Regions from separate parts of the Homo sapiens genome. Here region 2 is linked to region 1. Evidence: promoter capture Hi-C in human tissues and cell types (Jung and others, 2019). All regions are on one chromosome and are shown on one strand. Each heading gives the region's core, a stretch centred on a gene start or on the middle of the fragment in contact. The rest is flanking DNA. Distances are from core to core; before and after follow the strand shown.

Evidence for each region. The method cuts DNA at HindIII sites, captures the fragments that hold promoters and counts their contacts. A contact is called where the count stands out against the background at its distance.
Region 2: a fragment that was not itself captured here is called in contact with the fragment with the promoter of NRDE2 in region 1 in 1 of the 25 tissues and cell types used here (hippocampus).

The regions. Positions count from the first base shown.
Region 1 is chr14:90,328,805-90,333,999 of GRCh38, forward strand. NRDE2 (NRDE-2, necessary for RNA interference, domain containing) reads right to left here and starts at 3,137. Exons shown (of 14, transcript NM_017970.4): 1 at 3,037-3,137. The coding sequence starts at 3,100. RefSeq lists an enhancer at 2,891-3,070 and a silencer at 3,221-3,370. The HindIII fragment of the contact is 6,388 bases long and covers 1-5,195 here.
Region 2 is chr14:90,636,014-90,641,208 of GRCh38, forward strand. All of the region lies in intron 15 of TTC7B (tetratricopeptide repeat domain 7B), which reads right to left. Among named protein-coding and RNA genes, the nearest start is that of TTC7B-AS1, 4.0 kb to the right of the region's middle. RefSeq lists an enhancer at 3,537-4,051. The HindIII fragment of the contact is 5,972 bases long and covers 1-5,195 here.

The DNA of each region.
Region 1 (5,195 bases), core at 1,887-4,386:
ACGGTTTCCTCAACAGATCGATCACATGGAATGAAGGAGAGGAAGAAACCGATTTATACTGAAAGAGACCTAAGGCATATATCCACAAAATGCAATGTTGGCTGTATTTTGGAAATTGACTTGGACAATCCAACTGTAAAATCCCATTTTTGAAACATCTCGTGAAATTTGAACACTGACTGGTAAGTGAAAATGACCAGAAAAGAATTAAGGCTTTTTTCCATTACAAGAGATGATGCTGTGTTTATATTTTTTCAAAAGACAATACTTTATAAAACATACTTTTACACACATTTTCCTGATTGTAGATATCCAGAGGATGTCAAATAAATACTATTTAAGAGTAAGACTCCTCTGCAAAAGTTCGATTTCCCCCTCTCAAAATAAAAGGATAAAGCTTTGACATGTTATTAAAGATCACTATCCTCCATCACCACCAGCCCAACCATATTTCCCAAGGCTCCTCTTTATGCCACTACACCTCCAGACAAACTAGATGATTTGCAGTTCTCACACTTTTCTTCTGCAGGACTTGAAGGCCCTGGTATACACTTCCCCCATTTTATTTGTCCAAATCCTACTCTCTTGAAGATCCATCCAAAACTTAGCTCCTGGCTAGGCACAGTGGCTCACGCCTGTAATTCCAGAACTTTGGGAGGCTGAGGCAGGAGGATCACTTGAGCCCAGCAGTCTGAGATCAGCCTGGGCAACATAGCAAGACCCTGTCCCTACTTAAGAAAAAAAAAAGTAGGCTGGGTACGTTGGCTCACACCTGTAATCCCAGCACTTTGGGAGGCCGAGGTGGGCGGATTATCTAAGCTCAGGAGTTCAAGACCAGCCTGGCCAACATGGTGAAACCCCATTTCTACTAAAAATACAAAAAATTAGCCAGGTGTGGTGGTGCATGCCTGTAATCCAAGCTACTCGGGAGACTGAGGCACAAGAATCACTTGAAGCCAGGAGGCGGAGGTTGCAGTGAGCTGAGATTGTGCCACTGCACTCCAGCCTGGGTGACAGAGTGAGACTGCCTCAAAAAAAAAAAAAAAAAAAGTAAAAGAAAAAAATATTAGTTCCTACATAAAGCCTTCTTTGAACCTTCTATTAGAAGTAATTATTCCTGGGCTGGGTGTGGTGGCTCACAACTGTAATCCCAGCACTTTGGGAGGCTATGGTGGGCGAATCACTTAAAGTTAGGAGTTCGAGACCAGCCTGGCCAAAACAGTGAAACCCCATCTCTACTAACAATACAAAAATTAGCCGGGCATGGTGGTGAGTGCCTGTAGTCCCAGCTACTCGGGAGGCTGAGGCAGGAGAATCACTTGAACCCAGGAGGCGAAGGCTGCAGTGAGCCAAGATCGTACAATTACACTCCAGCTTGGGCGACAGAGCAAGACTTGGTCTCAAAAAAAAAAATAAATAAATAAATAAATAAAAAGAAGTAATTAATCCTGCAGTTCACCTATGGTATCTGTAATATCCCACCTTGTACTATACACTTCTTTTAGGTGCACTCATGCATTCCTGCAACACGTAATTATTAAGTAACTACTATCGATCTGTACATCCAGAAAATATTTATTGAACACCTATTATACTTTGGACCTGTGCTAGGGGCTAACTATGCTACAATGAATAGACAAACACTGCCCAACCTGATAGAGATTACAGTCTAGTAAGGGAAGACAACAATTTTACACAAGAAATTACTCACAATTATGAGAAATAGGACAAGCGCAGTGGCTCATGCCTGTAATCCTAGAACTTTGGGAGGCTCAGATAGAGAATCGCTTGAGCTCAGGAGTTCGAGACCAGCCTGGTCAACACAGTGAGACCTCGTCTCTACTAAATATTAAAAAAAATTAGCCAGGCCTGGTGGTGCACACCAGTAGTTCCAGCTATTCATGAGGCTGAGGCAGGAAGTTAAGCCCAGGAGTCTGAGGCGGCAGTGAGTTATGACAGTGCCACTGTACTCCAGCCTGGGCAACAGAGTGAGACCCTGTCTCAAAAAAAAAAAAAAAAATTAGGAGAAACGTTACAGAAAGTGTAGGAACTATATTAGAGGATATAACAGACAGGTAAGACTCAATTGCGCCCTGTCACATATGGCACATAATTTAGAATTACTTTTTTTTCTTTTTTTTTTAGAGACAAGGTCCCCCCACCCCAGGGCAGGATGCAGCGGCACGATCATGGCTCACTGCGGCCTCAAACTTCTGGGCTCAAGCAATCCTCCTACCTCAGCCTCCTGAGGAGCTGATACTATAGGTGTGCACCACCACGCCTGGCTTTTTTTTTAAGAGACAGGAGTCTCGCTATGTTGATCATGATGGTCATGAACTCCCGGGCTCAAACTATCCTTCCACCTACAGGTGTGGGCCACTGCTCCTGGCCAGGATTAATTACTTCTTAAATGAACTATGTACCCCAATTTTGAACAATGCAGCTCTGCTGGAAATGTCTGGGACTTAAGTAAAATGTGTAAAGCCATAACCTGATACACACTAGGCCCTCAAGAATAAATGTTAGTTATTTTCACTGGGTGCTGTGCCCCTCCAGAGAGAAACTGATTAGGTTTTGGATACTAATCCCCTAGCTCTAGGCCGCTAAGTAATACCAATCTAATAAGCATTTCAGAAATAAGTATAACAGGAAAGGAAGTAATATGTAATAAAAACATTCTGCATTTGCATCAAGGGTTTCCTCGAGATGTCGAGTATCATTATTCCCAATTTAAAGATGAAGTAACTGAGGCTCGAAAAGAAGAACAGGACCTAACAACATCGTACAGAAGTCCCAGCTCCAGGGCATCTGCTGGTCTTTCTCCACCCCTCCATAACTCTACAACCTTGGTCCAGAACAGGCCTCTGGGCCCCAGACCTCGGAGGGATTGAGCCTTTCCCAGAAGGCTTTGCAGCGCCGCGGAGAACTCTGGGATACAAATGGATACACAAATCCAAAGCAAAAGTCTAGACCTGGGCCCGAGAAACAGCCTCTTAAGCCCCCCAGGTGCCTTCTTCGGCTCGTTTGTGTGCTTACCTTTCCTGGAGCTCCCGCCATCGGGAGCCTCACTAAGCCCCGCAAAGGCTGGGAACAGCGCCATGACCACAGGCCGTACCTCCGTTCTTCTCTATAGGGATGGCGCCGGCGAGCGAGCGCCGGTCTGAGGACCCCTGCCGTCGCGGTGCACTCTGGGAAATGTGGTTTTCGCGGCGCTCTCTGGGGCTTGACCCCGAAGCGGGAGGGGCGGGGCCCAGAGAGGAGGGTCGTCAAGGGACTGGGGCGCGGCGGGGCAGGGAGAGGCAGGGCAAAGCAGGGTGGGGCGGGGCCAAGGGGGGCGGAGCGAGGAGTGACGGGTTCCTAGTGGTTGGGACCCTGTGAGAACCGGAACTGCGAAAACCGGAGAAGGGAATTGTTGACCGCGAAAGGGACTAAGGAAATTGGGATTCCAGTTCGACCCCTAAATTCACACCATCCTTGCTAACTGGGTCAACTTAAACGCTCTAAGCATTACTTTCCTTATCTGCAAAATATTGAGAAGATTAAATGAACATATTTATAAAGGGCCTAGCATTGAGTCCGGCCCATGAAAAGCACTTAATATGTGTTAGCTATTATGTGAATTACGACTGCAAGTTCGGCTCAAAGTCATGTGAGATATCCGAACTTCAATCAGGTTACCATATTAAATACCCCAGAACAAGGAAAAATGGAAAGTCCCATCAAGTTCAAGGGTCTTTGATAGTTAGGAAATACCTGTCTGTGAAGCATTCTTGACCCCGGTTCCTCCCACCCAAAATCTAATCACACTTGCTACCAGAAATATAGAGAGTAAAGGAACAACTTAGAAGACTTTGTACTACCAAGAAACAATTAGCCAAATCTAGAATATGGGAAATTATAGAAAACAACCGTGCTTCCTTAACATATCAAGGGCTTTAAGAGGGCAGGAGATTGTAATAGATACGAAGATCTTACAGACACATCAAGCAAATACAACATATTTGTGGCCTCATTATAATTCTGATTGGACAAACTGTAAAAAGACCTTTTTAAGATAGATGGAGAAATAAGAAGGTAGGCAGAGTACAAGCAATTCACAAGTAATTCTTGTGAATTCTGTTAGATGTACTAAAGTACTTATGTCACTGAGGTGACCCTTATTTATTTATTTTGAGACAAGGTCTCCTTCTGCCACCCAGGCTGGAGTGTAGTGGTACGATCTCTGCTCACTGCAGCTTCGAACTCCTCGATTCAAGCAATCCCCTCACCTCAGCCTCCCAAGTGGCTGGAACCACAGGCATACACCACCATGTCTGGCTTAATTTTTTTTTTTTTAATAGAGACAGGGTTTCACCATGTTGCCCAGGCTGGTCTCGAACTCCTGGGCTCAAGCGATCTGCCCCCCTCTGCCTCCCAAAGTGCTGGGTGCCTGTGCCTGAGCACCCCCCAACCCAGCCTGAGATTACTTTTTAAAGTTCTTATATATTAGAGATATATACTGAAATATTTGCAAGTGAAAATAGATAGGTAAATGAAGATATATTTATTGGGATCCTAGGGAGTTAAAGATCTTTAGTTAGGAAATACATTATAAACCAGAGATGCAAATGTAATCATCTAATCAAGGAATGGATGGACTCTGATGAAGTCTGCAGACCTGCATAAGAATTAGGTTCTATGAGTCCAAAATAGACACCCTTAATGCTTTGAAGTCCCTGGCAGAGTACTTACAAAAAGGAGCTTAGTATGACAATAGGGGCAGTAATTCCTGTATGTCTTCAACTTTAAATCTCAGGTTCTGCCAAAATCTTTGACTCTAAGTTACCTCAATTAATTGGGGCAGCATTTGTCTTTCTTAGCAGATCACTTCAGGTAACTGGGATGGAAATAGTCTATCCCAATGCCTCCTATCTTTCCACCCCAGAAAAGTAAGAATTAATATGGAAGTTTTAAGAAATTAAAACCATAATAATAATGTTTCTGTAATACAAAGGAATCTGGGTATACTAGGTATATTGTGTACTTACAAATGTATAAGAGAATGTTGCTCAAGAGACCCTCCTCATAAGAACAACTGAAAGTGTATAATCAAGTAACTGATACAGACTCCTGGTTTTAAGTTAAAATCTTTTTGTGTTTGTTTTGTTTTTGAGACAAGATCTCCTCTCTCGCCCAGGCTGGAGTGCAGTGGTGCG
Region 2 (5,195 bases), core at 1,058-3,557, 310 kb after region 1:
AGGAGGCTGAGGCAGGAGACTCACTTGAACCCAGGAGGCAGAGGTTGCAGTGAGCTGAGATTGTGCCTCTGCACTACAGCCTGGGCAACAGAGTGAGACTCCATCTCAAAAAAAAAAAAAAAGTTCAAAAAGAATGGAAAATGATAGTCCAAGTCTATATATGTGTATATGTATACATGTGTGTATACTCACACACATGCACACACATATATGTACAGATATATGGCTACACATATATATGTATGTGGCCATATGTATATCATACAAAATAGACTTTGAAGCAAAATGCCTTGTATCTTACAACATAATCATAAAAGGTTGAATGTACCATAATACACAGCAACTCTAAATTTATATGCAACTAATAGCACAGCTTTAAAATATAGAAAGGAAAAACTGCTATAACGATGTGGTAAAAAAAAAAAAAAAAAAAAGCCAATCCGCCATCCCAGTGGTAGATTTCAACATACCTCCTCTCAACAAATGATAAAGTAGAAAAAACCTCTATAAAAACAAAAAAGCTCTGATAGCATAATTAACAACTCAAACTAATAAAACATATAAAAATTTCCTCAACAAATGCAGAAAACATTCTTTTCAGGCACACATGGAATATTTACAAGAAGTAACCACTGGGCCACAAAATAAGTTCGACCAATTTCAAATGTATATATAGTCTTTAAACATAATTTAATGAAGTTAAAAGCTCATAACAAAAGATAAGTTGAAAAAACTCATATTTGACAATTGTAAAACACAGTTCAAAGACAACTAATGGATCAAAAAGAAAATAACAGAAATTTCAAAATATTTAGAATTATACAATAATAAAAATTTCAAATATTGAAACTTGTAGTTTACAGCTACAGCAGCATTTAGAGGAAAATTTTTAGTCTTAAATGCTTATGTCAGAAAATAAGGCAAAAAATGAATGAACACCCAACTAAGAGATTAAGAAAAAAAAAAAACCCAAAATACAACAAGACAGAACTTAGAGAAAACAGAAGATAGAAAATAATGAAAATGAGAACAGAAATTCATGAAAGAGAAAGTAAACCCACAAGTGAGTTGACAAAAAAGTTACTGGTTGTTTGAAAGGATCCATGTAACAGACAAGTATCTGGCAAGACTATTCAAGAAAAGAAATAAGGTGCATTAAACAATATTAGAATTGAAAAAAACTTAACCAACAAATGCCATATGAAAAATAAACATTATGAATTATCTTATGCCAATAAAATTTAAAATTTAGATGAAATGGACAAATCCTTACATATAATATAATTACAGCTTATACATTATACATAGCTTAATAAAAAAAAAGAAATAGAAGACCTGAATAGACTATAATTATTTTTAAAAAGCATCAGAAATCTTCCCACAGAGAAAAACCCCCCCCCAGCCCCACATGGTTTTACAGATGCATTCTACCAAAACTTAATATTCTCAGAACAAATAATTCCAAAACATGCAAAAAGAAAAAGTACTACTCCAACTCACTTTATGAGGCTGGGCTGACCTTGATGCCAAAATCTGGCAAGAACAGAAGGAGAAAGGAAAAGAATAGGCCTATTTTGCAAATGTACACAAACGCGAAGTTCTCTAAAAAATAAGTAAAGTGAATCCATAAAAAAGCTAATTTATCACAATCAAGTTGGGCTTATTCCAAGTATACAAGGTGAGTTTAACATTTAAAAATATAAATTAATATATAACATTCATAGATGAAAGGAATAAAGTCATATAATCATCTCAATAGATATAGAAAAGGCATTTGATAAAATCTGCTATCGTTTCATCATTAACAAAACAACTCTTAATAAACCAGGAAGAAGGAAACTTCTTTAATCTCTTAAATAGTACCTACAAACAAACCTGTAACAAGCACAATTCTTTTTTTCTGAGGCAGGGCCTCGCTCTGTTGCCCAGGCTGGAGTGTAGTGGTGCAGCCTTGACTTCCTGGGCTCAACTGATCCTCCCACGTCAGCCTTCTGAGTGGCTGGGACCACAGGTACACGCCATCACATCTGGCTACCCTTTTTTTTTTTTTATCTAGAGATGGGGTCTCACAATGTTGCCCAGGCTGGTCTTGAACTCCTGAGCTCAAGCGATCCTCCTGCCTTAGCCTCTCAAAGTGCTGGCATTACAGGCGTGGACCACTGCACCCAGCTAAATGTAATTCTTAATGGTAAAACATTGAAAGAATTTTCTCATTTAACTACTAGGTCCTAACTAGTACAGTAAGACAAGTTAAAAAAATGGAAAGATTAGAGAAAAAGAAACAATTTTAATCACCTCAGAAAAAAAGTCATTATGTATGTAGAAATTCCAAACTGAGTTATATATGTCATTAGACTTATTAAGAATTTAGCTGGGTCAAGAAGAATGTGCAAAAACCAGTTACCTTTCTATACCTTCGCAACAAGTACATAGTAAATTTGATTACAAAAATATTCTGTATACAATAGTGCATATAAAAGCATGAAAAATTTTTTCAGGTAACTAGAAATAAGTCTAGTAAAAAATGGGCAAAATATTTATTAAAAAATTATAAAAACATCCAAAAATACTTGTAAAGGCCTAAATAATTAGGGAGCTATAATGGCTATGGATTAGAAAACCTACTGTCATAAATATACAATTCTCCCCAAACTAAGCTATTAAATTAAACTAATTCCAAAATCTCCAGAAGTTTTCTGTGGAACTGGACGAGCTGATTTGAAAATTTATGTGAAAGTTCAAAGGCCCAAGACAAGCCATGGCAACCTAAAGAGCAGGATACAGAGAGGGACCCACCTTACATATAATGAAGCTATGACAGTGACAAGACAGTGGCAATCACATGGGACTGGCACGATGGCCAATGGAACAAAACAGGAAACTTAGAAACAACTGCGGACATTTGGTTGATGACAAAGGTGGAACTGTGGAGCAACAGGGCAAAGAATCTTTTCAGCGTTTGATGCTGGGACAATTGAATATCCTATGGGGAAAATCACATTGGCTGGCTCATACCATACACACATAAAACAGTCCATTCTAGGTGGGCCCTTAGGTTTCAGTGTGAAAGATAGCACAAGAGAGCTTTTAGAAGATGATTTAGGAGACTACCTTCATGATCTTGGAGAAGGGAAAGGTTTCTTCAACTAGACATAGAAAGTACTGTCCATAAAGGAAACGACTTCTACTTTCTATTACTTTAAAATTAAGAACTTCTGTTTATCAAAAGACATCATGAAGAGAAAGCAAAACAAAATCACAGCTTGGGAGAAGATTTCTGCAACACATATAACTAAGAAAAAGACTTGTAACCAAAATACATAAAGAAATATTATTAAGGAAAAGACCATCCAATAAAAAAGAAGGAATTTCACATACACTTCACAAAAGAGAAAAGGTGAATGACCAATAGACAAATAAAAAGATGTCCAAACTCATTAGTAATGAGGGATGCGCAACTTAAACTCACAAGGTGACATCATTAACCAGCAACCATTCTGCCAAAAATATGAAGTCGGGCAGCACCAAGTATTGGTGTATGGAACCACAGGGCTCTTGAGCGCTGCTGATGGGAGTGTAAACTAATACAACCCCTTTGAAAAACAGTTTGGAATTATTTGGTAAAGTTGAAGATACACAAATCCTACGACCTAACTATTTCACTCATAGAGAAATCCTTGAACGTGTGCACCAGGAGCCCTGTAAAGAAGATTTACAAGCACTGTTCATAATAGCTAAAACCTGAAAACAACCCACGTATCTATTCACAGTAGACTAAGTAAGGAAATCTTAGTGCATTTACACAATAAATACTATTCATTCATGCAAACCAAAGAGTCACTGCTGCGTGCAACAAGGAGGAGCCTCAGGAACGGGATGTTAAGCAATGAACGCAAGCAGCATAAGGACATATTCAGTCTGATTCCATTTTCTACCAAAAGTTTAAAACAGGCAAAACACAATTTTTATTATTTAGGAGTACACGCCGGGTGCGGTAGCTCAGGCCTGTAATCCCAGCACTTTGGGAGGCCGAGGCGCATGGATCGCTTGAGCTCAGGAGTTTGAGCCCAGCCTGGCCAACGTGGTGAAACCCCATCACTACAAAAAATACAAAAATGAGCTGGGTATGGTGGCACACGCCTGTGCTCCCAGCTACTCGGGAGGCTGAAGGATCCATTGAGCTGGGAGTTTGAGAATGCAGTGAGCTGTGACTGTACCACTGCACTCCAGCCTGGGTGACAGAGTGAGGCCCTGTCTCAAAACAAAAAAAAAAGAGAGAGAGAAAGAAAAAGCACAATATACATGGTATAGAAACATGAGAGAATGATTAACATAGAATTTAGAATGGTCATTAACCTGTCAGGTGACAGGCAAAAGGACAGGATACAGAGAAAAATCATTGGCAATATTACACGAAAAATCCATATACCTAGGAAATACATACACATGTTTAAGATACGTGTAAGTATATATGTATAAATAAATCTACACAGGAAATTCACAGGTAATATTAATGTTCTTTTTTCTAAACTACGAATAGGCAAACACATATGTTCATTGTATGATTTTAGATATATTTAATAAACATTCATTTGATTTTATTCCATATTTAAGAACAATTCTAAAGGATTCTAAAATACCATATTTGAACATACTTCAGTAGTATTGGTAGTAATAGTCATAGTAATATGAGTTTCTACCAATTATTACGTGATTACCAGGTACAATGCCTCAAATGCACCAGCTAAATCAATTCTGACCACAACTGTCTGAGATGGATATTTTATTATTCACATTTTGTAGATGAGGAAATGAGACTCAGAGAGATTTAGTGACTTGCTCAAGGTCACACAACTTAAAAGTGAAGGATCTGGAGTCCTAAACTCAACTTGTCCCATTGTAAGACTGCACTCTCAACCACTACAAAAAAAGCCTTCCTCGTTCCTTTCCTTCCATACTGGACTAACCCTATAACACTTCCAAAAATGCCTGCTTCTCCAGAGTAGTGAGCCTATTTTGGGGGTTCCCTGAAGAAAGAATTCCTGATTCTCACAAATCCCTACGGTTAGAAACATCTTCTCAATTGTTGATTCTACTGTTGTCTCAGCCCTGCTTGGAGTGACAAAGTGGCTGAGATGGTACCTCTCAGCTTAGAACTTTTTGGACCCTGTTAAGCTTATTCAAAGTACTTAAAC